Linked DNA regions of Homo sapiens: region 2 is linked to region 1. The links are contacts of gene promoters, found by promoter capture Hi-C in blood cells and fetal thymus (Javierre and others, 2016). All regions are on one chromosome and are shown on one strand. The core of a region is centred on a gene start or on the middle of the fragment in contact, and the rest is flanking DNA. Distances in the headings are between cores, read along the strand shown.

Region 1 (4,519 bases), core at 1,584-4,083:
CGTTATTAGAACCATCCAACAGGGAGAAAATCCCAGTTAAAACAGTGTCTATTATATCTACCCCATCTTGGCTACTATAAATATCACATCAAGAATATTGGCCTCACAACACTTTGTTGTTGGAGATAACTATGCTTTCATGGGTTTCATAAGTGCCTTTCCTCTGAAAAACTGAAAGCTGTTCTTTTACATTACTGCATACAACTACCTGGAGTTATAGAGGGTTAGAAATTTTAATTTTGTTGAAGAAGAAATGGAAACTTAGGCCAGAGGACTTGTCAGGGGTGACTCTGAACAACAGGAACTAAGACTTTGCTTTTCCTTCTGTCTCTGGCCTGACAGATTTTCAGGAAGCACTCTGCTTCCATTTCCTCTGATGTAAATAATGGTAAACATCAGCTCGAATACATTGGCTGACTTACTAAGAGGAGGAAAGATGGTCTTTTAAACCAGCATCATAAGACTTTGTAGGAGTTTGCAAGCTGGTTGGAATTAGATACATAGCATTTAGTTTCTCTTCTTTCTTTCCTTTTTCTTTTCCTTGTAAGGATAGGTTAAAAGCAGGCATAGTTGAATTATTCTTAATATCCACTGTCCTCATCCTCTTCTCCTGTCATTCTGTAAACTGACCTAGTCCTCCCCTACGTTTAGGACTTAGGCTAGTGAAACTGACCTTCTCAGCTACAAGAGGACTATATGCTACTTTTTTAGTACAAAATTCATTGAGGGTGTGTTCACCTTGACCTCACTTGTTTATAACTAACACACAAATACCAGAAGGCCCTTACCATACCTCTTTATGTTGCTTACATGGATATTTCACTACAGTGCATTGTTTCTGTTAACATTAGTTCAAAATTCAACCTCTTCCAGAGTCAGCCTTAGTTTTAAATAAAACTAATAACTGTTAGACATCTGGTGGTATGAAAATAAAAAAACTAATAACTGTGTTTCTAGACTCTAATGGGTATAGCCTAAACTGAGATAAGTGCAGTTTTCCTTTTTACTCCTAAAGTGTAAGTAAGGTAAGATTGTTTCATGGGAAGTCAATAGCTTCCTGAAACAATGCTTTGTCTTCTCATGCTGTTAACCAGTAGTTTATTAGAATGATTTAAAGCCTTTTGAATATAACTGCTTTGCTGCTTTTTAAGATCAAGCCCTCTTGTTGGATGTTAACATTTAGTACTGAGCATTTGAGTTGCATCTGTCCTAATAATAGATTGTATTTTGAAGTCATTTTTGTTACTGACCTTTTGATTTTTATTTTTTATTATTATTATTTTTTATTTTGACTGAGTTTCACTCTGTCACCCAGGCTGGAGTGCAGTGGTGCAGTCTTGGCTCACTGCAACCTCTCCCTCCTGGGTTCAAGCAATTCTCCCACCTCAGCCTACCTAGTAGCTGGGATTACAGGCACCCACCACCACGCCTGGCTAATTTTTGTATTTTTAGTAGAGATGAGGTTTCACCACGTTGGCCAGGCTGGTCTCGAACTCCTGACCTCAGGTGATCCACCTGCCTCGGCCTCCCAAAGTGCTGGGATTACAGGCATGAGCCACTGTGCCCAGCCCTTTTTGATTTTTAATTAAAGATCTTACAATGGTCGGGTGCGGTGGCTCTTGCCTGTAATCCAAGCACTTTGGGAGGCTGAGGCGGGCGGATCACCTGAGGTCAAGAGTTTGAGACCACCCTGACCAACGTGGAGAAACCTCATCTCTACTAAAAATGCAAAATTAGTCGGGTGTGTGGCGCATGCATGTAATCCCAGCTACTCTGAGGCAGGAGAATCGCTTGGACCCGGGAGGCGGAGGTTGCGGTGAGCTCAGATGGCGCCATTGTACTCCTGTCTGGGCAACAAGAGCAAAACACAGTCTTAAAAAAAAAAAAAAATTCTTACACTTACATGCGTAGAGGTCAATTTTTAACTGGATTGGTGGCAAAAGAAGAGCTGGAAATGATGTTTAATGATACTATGATGCTTACACTGAGCCGTCTTGTTTGGGTGGTCTAAGGTAGCAGTGAATCTAAATAGTCATTGCCAGTTGAAAAACTATTAATGAACCATCTCCCTCCACATTCCCCTTTCTTTAAAACATTTAAATATTCTTAACTTAGTTGCACACTATTGATGTGATAAAAACTTATAAGCCTTTTAAGTTTAGAGTTGTATTATTTGGTAGGATGATGATTGTGATTTAATCTGCTGATCATTAGTTTACTTTTGTTTTCTGAGTCAGATGCTCACCCAGTTTTACCATGATTTTTGGAAAGCTTGGCTAGAAATAAAATAGAACATTTGCTTCTCTGTCCCCAAGCATTATGTTATTTCTTATTTCTCTTTATAATTCCCTCTCTGTCCAGGTATACCTGGTTTAAGACTTCTCATTTGTAACCTCAGTGTTCACATTTGAAACAAGAAAAGTGCATTAACATGAGAATCATTCTGGTGCAAAGATTCTCAGGATTTGTAATATCCTTAAGAATCACCCAAGGAGCTTATTGAAAATGCACATTCCTGGATTTACTCTCAAGTATGGTACCCCAGGGTCTGCATACTTCACAAGCGTCCCTGGTGGTTTTAGGGCAAGTGGTGAAAAAAGTACACTTGGAGAAACTATTCTAGAGTTGTAGACTAGACTAGGGAATAAAGAAACATAAATGTCCTTCATTCCTGAGCACTAACCCCGCCATTATGTGAATGCATATTAATGGATACTTAATCACATTGAATTACAGTATGCAGATTTTATTAAGAACATGTCTACCTCTTATTCTGATGCTGTGAATGTCTACCACAATGAGAAAGTAATTTTAAAATCATTTCTATTTGTGTAAGAGAAACCCGAGTTTGAGGACCTTATTTTATTCTACGCTGTTTAGATTTGTATCCTCTGGTAATTTAGTGGCATTAGTCACCTGCTAATTAATCTTTTTCCTTTCCCCTGTGTTCCATATAGAGAAAAGTGGTAAAGAATCTACCTCACTGGGAATGTCATCATTACCAACTTCAGATGGGTTTAACCATCCCGCCCGTTCTTCAGGACAGAGTCCTGATGTTGGTAATCCTATGAGTCTTGCTCGCTCTGTCTCTGCTTCAGTCTGCCCTATCAAGCCCAGTGACTCAGATCGCATTGAACCTAAAGCTGTGAAGGCTTTGAAGGCTTCAGCTGAATTCCAGCTAAACTCTGAAAAGAAAGAACATCTTTCTTTACAAGATCTTTCTGATCATGCTTCCTCAGCAGACCATGCTCCAACAGACCAGAGTCCAGCTATGCCTATGCAGAATTCATCCGAAGAAATAACTGTTGCAGGTAATCTGGAGAAATCTGCTGAAAGAAGCACCCAGGGCCTCAAATTTCATCTCCATACAAGACAGGAAGCTAGTTTATCTGTCACATCTACTAGGATGCATGAACCACAGATGTTTCTAGGTGAAAAGGATTGGCATCCAGAAAATCAGAACCTGAGTCAAGTGAGTGACCCTCAGCAGCACGAAGAACCAGGGAATGAACAGTATGAGGTTGCACAACAAAAAGCTTCACATGACCAAGAATATCTTTGTAACATAGGGGACCTTGAGCTTCCTGAAGAAAGGCAACAGAATCAACACAAAATTGTTGATTTGGAAGCTACGATGAAAGGAAATGGGCTCCCACAGAATGTGGATCCTCCAAGTGCGAAGAAAAGTATTCCATCTTCAGAATGCAGTGGCTGCTCAAATTCAGAAACATTTATGGAAATCGATACAGCTCAACAGTCCCTAGTTACTTTGCTTAATTCAACAGGCAGGCAGAATGCCAATGTCAAGAACATTGGTGCATTGGATCTCACTTTAGATAATCCCTTGATGGAAGTAGAAACATCAAAATGTAACCCTTCATCTGAAATTTTGAATGATTCCATTTCCACTCAGGATTTACAGCCCCCAGAAACTAATGTTGAAATACCTGGAACAAATAAAGAATATGGCCATTACTCCTCTCCAAGTCTCTGTGGCAGTTGTCAGCCTTCTGTGGAGTCAGCAGAAGAATCTTGCCCGTCTATAACGGCAGCCTTGAAAGAACTTCATGAACTTTTGGTTGTTAGCAGTAAACCAGCTTCAGAAAATACATCTGAAGAAGTAATCTGTCAATCAGAAACCATAGCTGAGGGCCAAACCAGTATTAAAGACCTTTCTGAAAGATGGACCCAAAATGAGCATCTTACCCAGAATGAACAGTGTCCACAAGTCTCCTTTCATCAGGCCATATCTGTATCAGTGGAGACAGAAAAATTAACAGGTACTTCATCTGACACTGGAAGAGAAGCTGTAGAAAATGTAAACTTCAGGAGTCTAGGTGATGGCCTGTCAACCGATAAGGAAGGTGTCCCCAAATCTAGGGAATCCATAAATAAGAACCGTTCTGTCACTGTAACCTCAGCTAAAACATCCAATCAGTTACACTGCACCTTAGGTGTAGAAATTTCACCCAAACTTTTAGCAGGTGAGGAGGATGCACTCAATCAGACTTCTGAGCAA
Region 2 (4,618 bases), core at 1,006-3,505, 270 kb after region 1:
GCAAAATTTTAGTTAAAATTTTTATCTGTTTTTCTAAACAGTGGATTTATTTCCCAAGTTGTAAGAATATCTTTTTATAGAATAGTAATTTTGTGGGAGACTTAGGTAGGAGTGTGGGGATATTGTCCAGTAACTAGTGTCTGCTTTGTCACAACGCCGGAGTTACCAGAAACATTAAAAAAGGGTTGAATCACCACTGCCCAATAGAAGCATAATGTAAGTTATATAAATTCTGTATATGTAATTTTAAATTTTCTAGTAGCCACATTAAAAAGACAAAGTGAAATTTTCTTTAATATATCTAAAACGTTGTTTCAACATATAATCAGTCTAAATTGTTGTTTTTCTATAAACTAGGTCTACAAAATTGGCTGTGTATTTTACACATCTCAATTTAGCTAGATTTCAAGTGCCTAGTAGCTACTTGAAGCTATAGTGGATAGCTACTACAAACTAATCATTTCACAAATGATTAAATAATGTCAAAAGATTTTTTAGAAGCAGGAATTTCTGATTTCATATGTATGATTTTATGCATAAGTGATGAGGAAACAAAAGAACTAATATCTTTGTTATTTTTTGGCAGAGAGGAACGAAGGGCATCCTACGACTATAACCAAGATCGTACATATTATGAGAGTGTTCGAACTCCAGGCACTTATCCTGAGGATTCCAGGCGGGACTATCCAGCTCGAGGGAGAGAGTTTTATTCAGAATGGGAAACTTACCAAGGAGACTACTATGAATCACGATACTACGATGATCCTCGGGAATACAGGGATTACAGGAATGATCCTTATGAACAAGATATTAGGGAATATAGTTACAGGCAAAGGGAACGAGAAAGAGAACGTGAAAGATTTGAGTCTGACCGGGACAGAGACCATGAGAGGAGGCCGATTGAACGAAGTCAAAGTCCTGTTCACTTGCGACGTCCACAGAGTCCTGGAGCGTCTCCCTCTCAGGCAGAGAGGTTGCCGAGTGATTCTGAGAGGAGGCTTTACAGCCGATCCTCAGACCGGAGTGGAAGCTGTAGCTCACTCTCCCCTCCAAGATATGAGAAACTGGACAAGTCTCGTTTGGAGCGCTATACAAAAAATGAAAAGACAGATAAAGAACGAACTTTTGATCCGGAGAGAGTGGAGAGAGAGAGACGCTTAATACGGAAGGAAAAAGTGGAAAAGGACAAAACTGACAAGCAGAAACGCAAAGGAAAGGTTCACTCCCCTAGTTCTCAGTCTTCAGAAACGGACCAAGAAAATGAGCGAGAGCAAAGCCCTGAAAAGCCCAGGAGTTGTAATAAACTGAGCAGAGAGAAAGCTGACAAAGAGGGAATAGCGAAAAACCGCCTGGAACTCATGCCTTGCGTGGTTTTGACTCGAGTGAAAGAGAAAGAGGGAAAGGTCATTGACCACACTCCTGTGGAAAAGTTGAAAGCCAAGCTTGATAATGACACTGTCAAATCTTCTGCCCTGGACCAGAAACTTCAGGTCTCTCAGACGGAGCCTGCAAAATCTGACTTGTCTAAACTGGAATCAGTTAGAATGAAAGTACCAAAGGAAAAGGGGCTTTCAAGCCATGTTGAAGTGGTGGAGAAGGAAGGCAGGCTTAAAGCCAGGAAGCACCTCAAGCCTGAGCAGCCTGCAGATGGGGTAAGTGCTGTGGATCTGGAGAAGCTGGAAGCCAGGAAAAGGCGCTTTGCAGATTCCAATTTAAAAGCAGAAAAGCAAAAACCAGAGGTCAAGAAAAGCAGTCCAGAGATGGAGGATGCTCGCGTGCTTTCAAAAAAGCAGCCTGACGTGTCCTCTAGAGAGGTCATTCTGCTGAGGGAAGGAGAGGCTGAAAGAAAGCCTGTGAGGAAAGAAATTCTTAAAAGAGAATCTAAAAAAATCAAACTGGACAGACTTAATACTGTTGCCAGCCCCAAAGACTGTCAGGAGCTTGCCAGTATTTCTGTTGGGTCTGGCTCAAGGCCCAGCTCAGACCTACAAGCAAGACTGGGAGAACTAGCAGGTGAATCTGTGGAAAATCAAGAAGTCCAATCAAAAAAGCCCATTCCCTCAAAACCACAGCTCAAACAGCTGCAGGTATTAGATGATCAAGGACCAGAGAGAGAAGACGTTAGGAAAAACTATTGCAGTCTTCGTGATGAAACACCTGAACGTAAATCAGGCCAAGAGAAATCACATTCAGTAAATACTGAAGAAAAAATTGGCATTGACATCGATCACACGCAGAGTTACCGAAAACAAATGGAACAGAGTCGTAGGAAACAGCAGATGGAAATGGAAATAGCCAAGTCTGAGAAGTTTGGCAGTCCTAAAAAAGATGTAGATGAATATGAAAGACGTAGCCTCGTTCACGAGGTAGGCAAACCCCCTCAAGATGTCACTGATGACTCTCCTCCTAGCAAAAAGAAAAGGATGGATCATGTCGATTTTGATATCTGCACCAAGCGAGAACGGAATTACAGAAGTTCACGCCAAATCAGCGAAGATTCTGAAAGGACTGGTGGTTCTCCCAGTGTCCGACATGGTTCCTTCCATGAAGATGAGGATCCCATAGGCTCCCCTAGGCTACTGTCAGTAAAAGGGTCTCCTAAAGTAGATGAAAAAGTCCTCCCCTATTCTAACATAACAGTCAGGGAAGAGTCTTTAAAATTTAATCCTTATGATTCTAGCAGGAGAGAACAGATGGCAGATATGGCCAAAATAAAACTATCTGTCTTGAATTCTGAAGATGAACTAAATCGTTGGGACTCTCAGATGAAACAGGATGCTGGCAGATTTGATGTGAGTTTCCCAAACAGCATAATTAAGAGAGATAGCCTTCGAAAAAGGTCTGTACGAGATCTGGAACCTGGTGAGGTGCCTTCTGATTCTGACGAAGATGGTGAACACAAATCCCACTCACCCAGAGCCTCTGCATTATATGAAAGTTCTCGATTGTCTTTTTTATTGAGGGACAGAGAAGACAAGCTACGTGAGCGAGATGAAAGACTCTCTAGTTCTTTAGAAAGGAACAAATTTTACTCTTTTGCATTGGATAAGACAATCACACCAGACACTAAAGCTTTGCTTGAAAGAGCTAAATCCCTCTCTTCATCTCGTGAAGAAAATTGGTCTTTTCTTGATTGGGACTCCCGATTTGCAAATTTTCGAAACAACAAAGATAAAGAAAAGGTTGACTCTGCTCCAAGACCTATTCCATCCTGGTACATGAAAAAGAAGAAAATTAGGACTGATTCAGAAGGGAAAATGGATGATAAGAAAGAGGACCATAAAGAAGAAGAGCAAGAGAGGCAGGAATTGTTTGCTTCTCGTTTTTTACACAGCTCAATCTTTGAACAAGATTCCAAGCGATTGCAGCATCTAGAGAGAAAAGAGGAAGATTCTGACTTCATTTCTGGTAGGATCTATGGGAAGCAGACATCTGAGGGAGCAAACAGCACAACTGATTCCATTCAAGAACCAGTAGTTCTGTTCCATAGCAGATTTATGGAGCTCACACGGATGCAACAGAAAGAAAAAGAAAAAGACCAGAAACCCAAAGAGGTTGAGAAACAGGAAGATACAGAGAATCATCCCAAGACCCCAGAATCTGCTCCTGAGAATAAAGATTCAGAACTGAAAACTCCACCTTCCGTTGGGCCTCCAAGTGTCACAGTCGTAACTCTAGAATCAGCCCCATCAGCACTAGAGAAGACCACTGGTGACAAAACGGTAGAGGCGCCTTTGGTAACAGAAGAGAAGACTGTGGAGCCAGCTACCGTCTCAGAAGAAGCAAAGCCTGCATCTGAACCTGCTCCTGCCCCTGTGGAACAGCTGGAACAAGTAGACCTGCCCCCAGGAGCAGACCCCGATAAAGAAGCTGCCATGATGCCTGCGGGTGTTGAGGAAGGTTCATCAGGTGACCAGCCGCCTTATCTGGATGCCAAGCCTCCAACTCCCGGGGCCTCGTTTTCCCAGGCAGAGAGCAACGTAGATCCAGAGCCTGACAGTACCCAGCCACTTTCAAAACCAGCTCAGAAGTCTGAGGAAGCCAATGAGCCAAAGGCCGAAAAGCCAGACGCCACTGCAGATGCTGAGCCTGATGCAAACCAGAAAGCCGAAGCTGCTCCTGAGTCTCAGCCCCCAGCTTCTGAAGATTTAGAGGTTGATCCTCCAGTTGCTGCAAAGGATAAAAAGCCAAACAAAAGCAAGCGTTCAAAGACCCCTGTTCAGGCAGCTGCAGTGAGTATCGTGGAGAAGCCCGTCACAAGGAAGAGTGAGAGGATAGACCGGGAAAAACTCAAGCGGTCCAATTCTCCTCGGGGAGAAGCACAGAAGCTTTTGGAATTGAAGATGGAGGCAGAGAAGATTACAAGGACTGCTTCTAAAAACTCTGCTGCAGACCTTGAACATCCCGAACCAAGTTTGCCTCTCAGCCGAACAAGGCGCCGGAATGTAAGGAGCGTCTATGCAACCATGGGTGACCATGAAAACCGCTCTCCTGTCAAAGAGCCCGTTGAGCAACCAAGAGTGACCAGAAAGAGATTGGAGCGAGAGCTTCAGGAGGCTGCAGCGGTTCCCACCACCCCTCGGAGGGGAAGGCCTCCAAAGACACGCCGGCGAGCCGA

Evidence for each region. Contacts are between HindIII fragments. The CHiCAGO score rates a contact against its expected background, and 5 or more counts as called.
Region 2: a contact is called between a fragment that was not itself captured here and the fragment with the promoter of RSC1A1 in region 1, in 1 of 17 cell types (naive B cells). The highest score is 5.3, in naive B cells.

Annotation. Positions count from the first base shown.
Region 1 is chr1:15,656,880-15,661,398 of GRCh38, forward strand. It overlaps RSC1A1 (regulator of solute carriers 1), which reads left to right and starts at 2,834. Exons shown (of 1, transcript NM_006511.3): 1 at 2,834-4,519. The coding sequence starts at 2,990. It overlaps DDI2 (DDI proteasomal shuttling factor 2), which reads left to right. Exons shown (of 10, transcript NM_032341.5): 10 at 2,958-4,519. The HindIII fragment of the contact is 1,265 bases long and covers 2,270-3,534 here.
Region 2 is chr1:15,927,505-15,932,122 of GRCh38, forward strand. It overlaps SPEN (spen family transcriptional repressor), which reads left to right. Exons shown (of 15, transcript NM_015001.3): 11 at 587-4,618. Among named protein-coding and RNA genes, the nearest start is that of ZBTB17, 46 kb to the right of the region's middle. The HindIII fragment of the contact is 1,630 bases long and covers 1,441-3,070 here.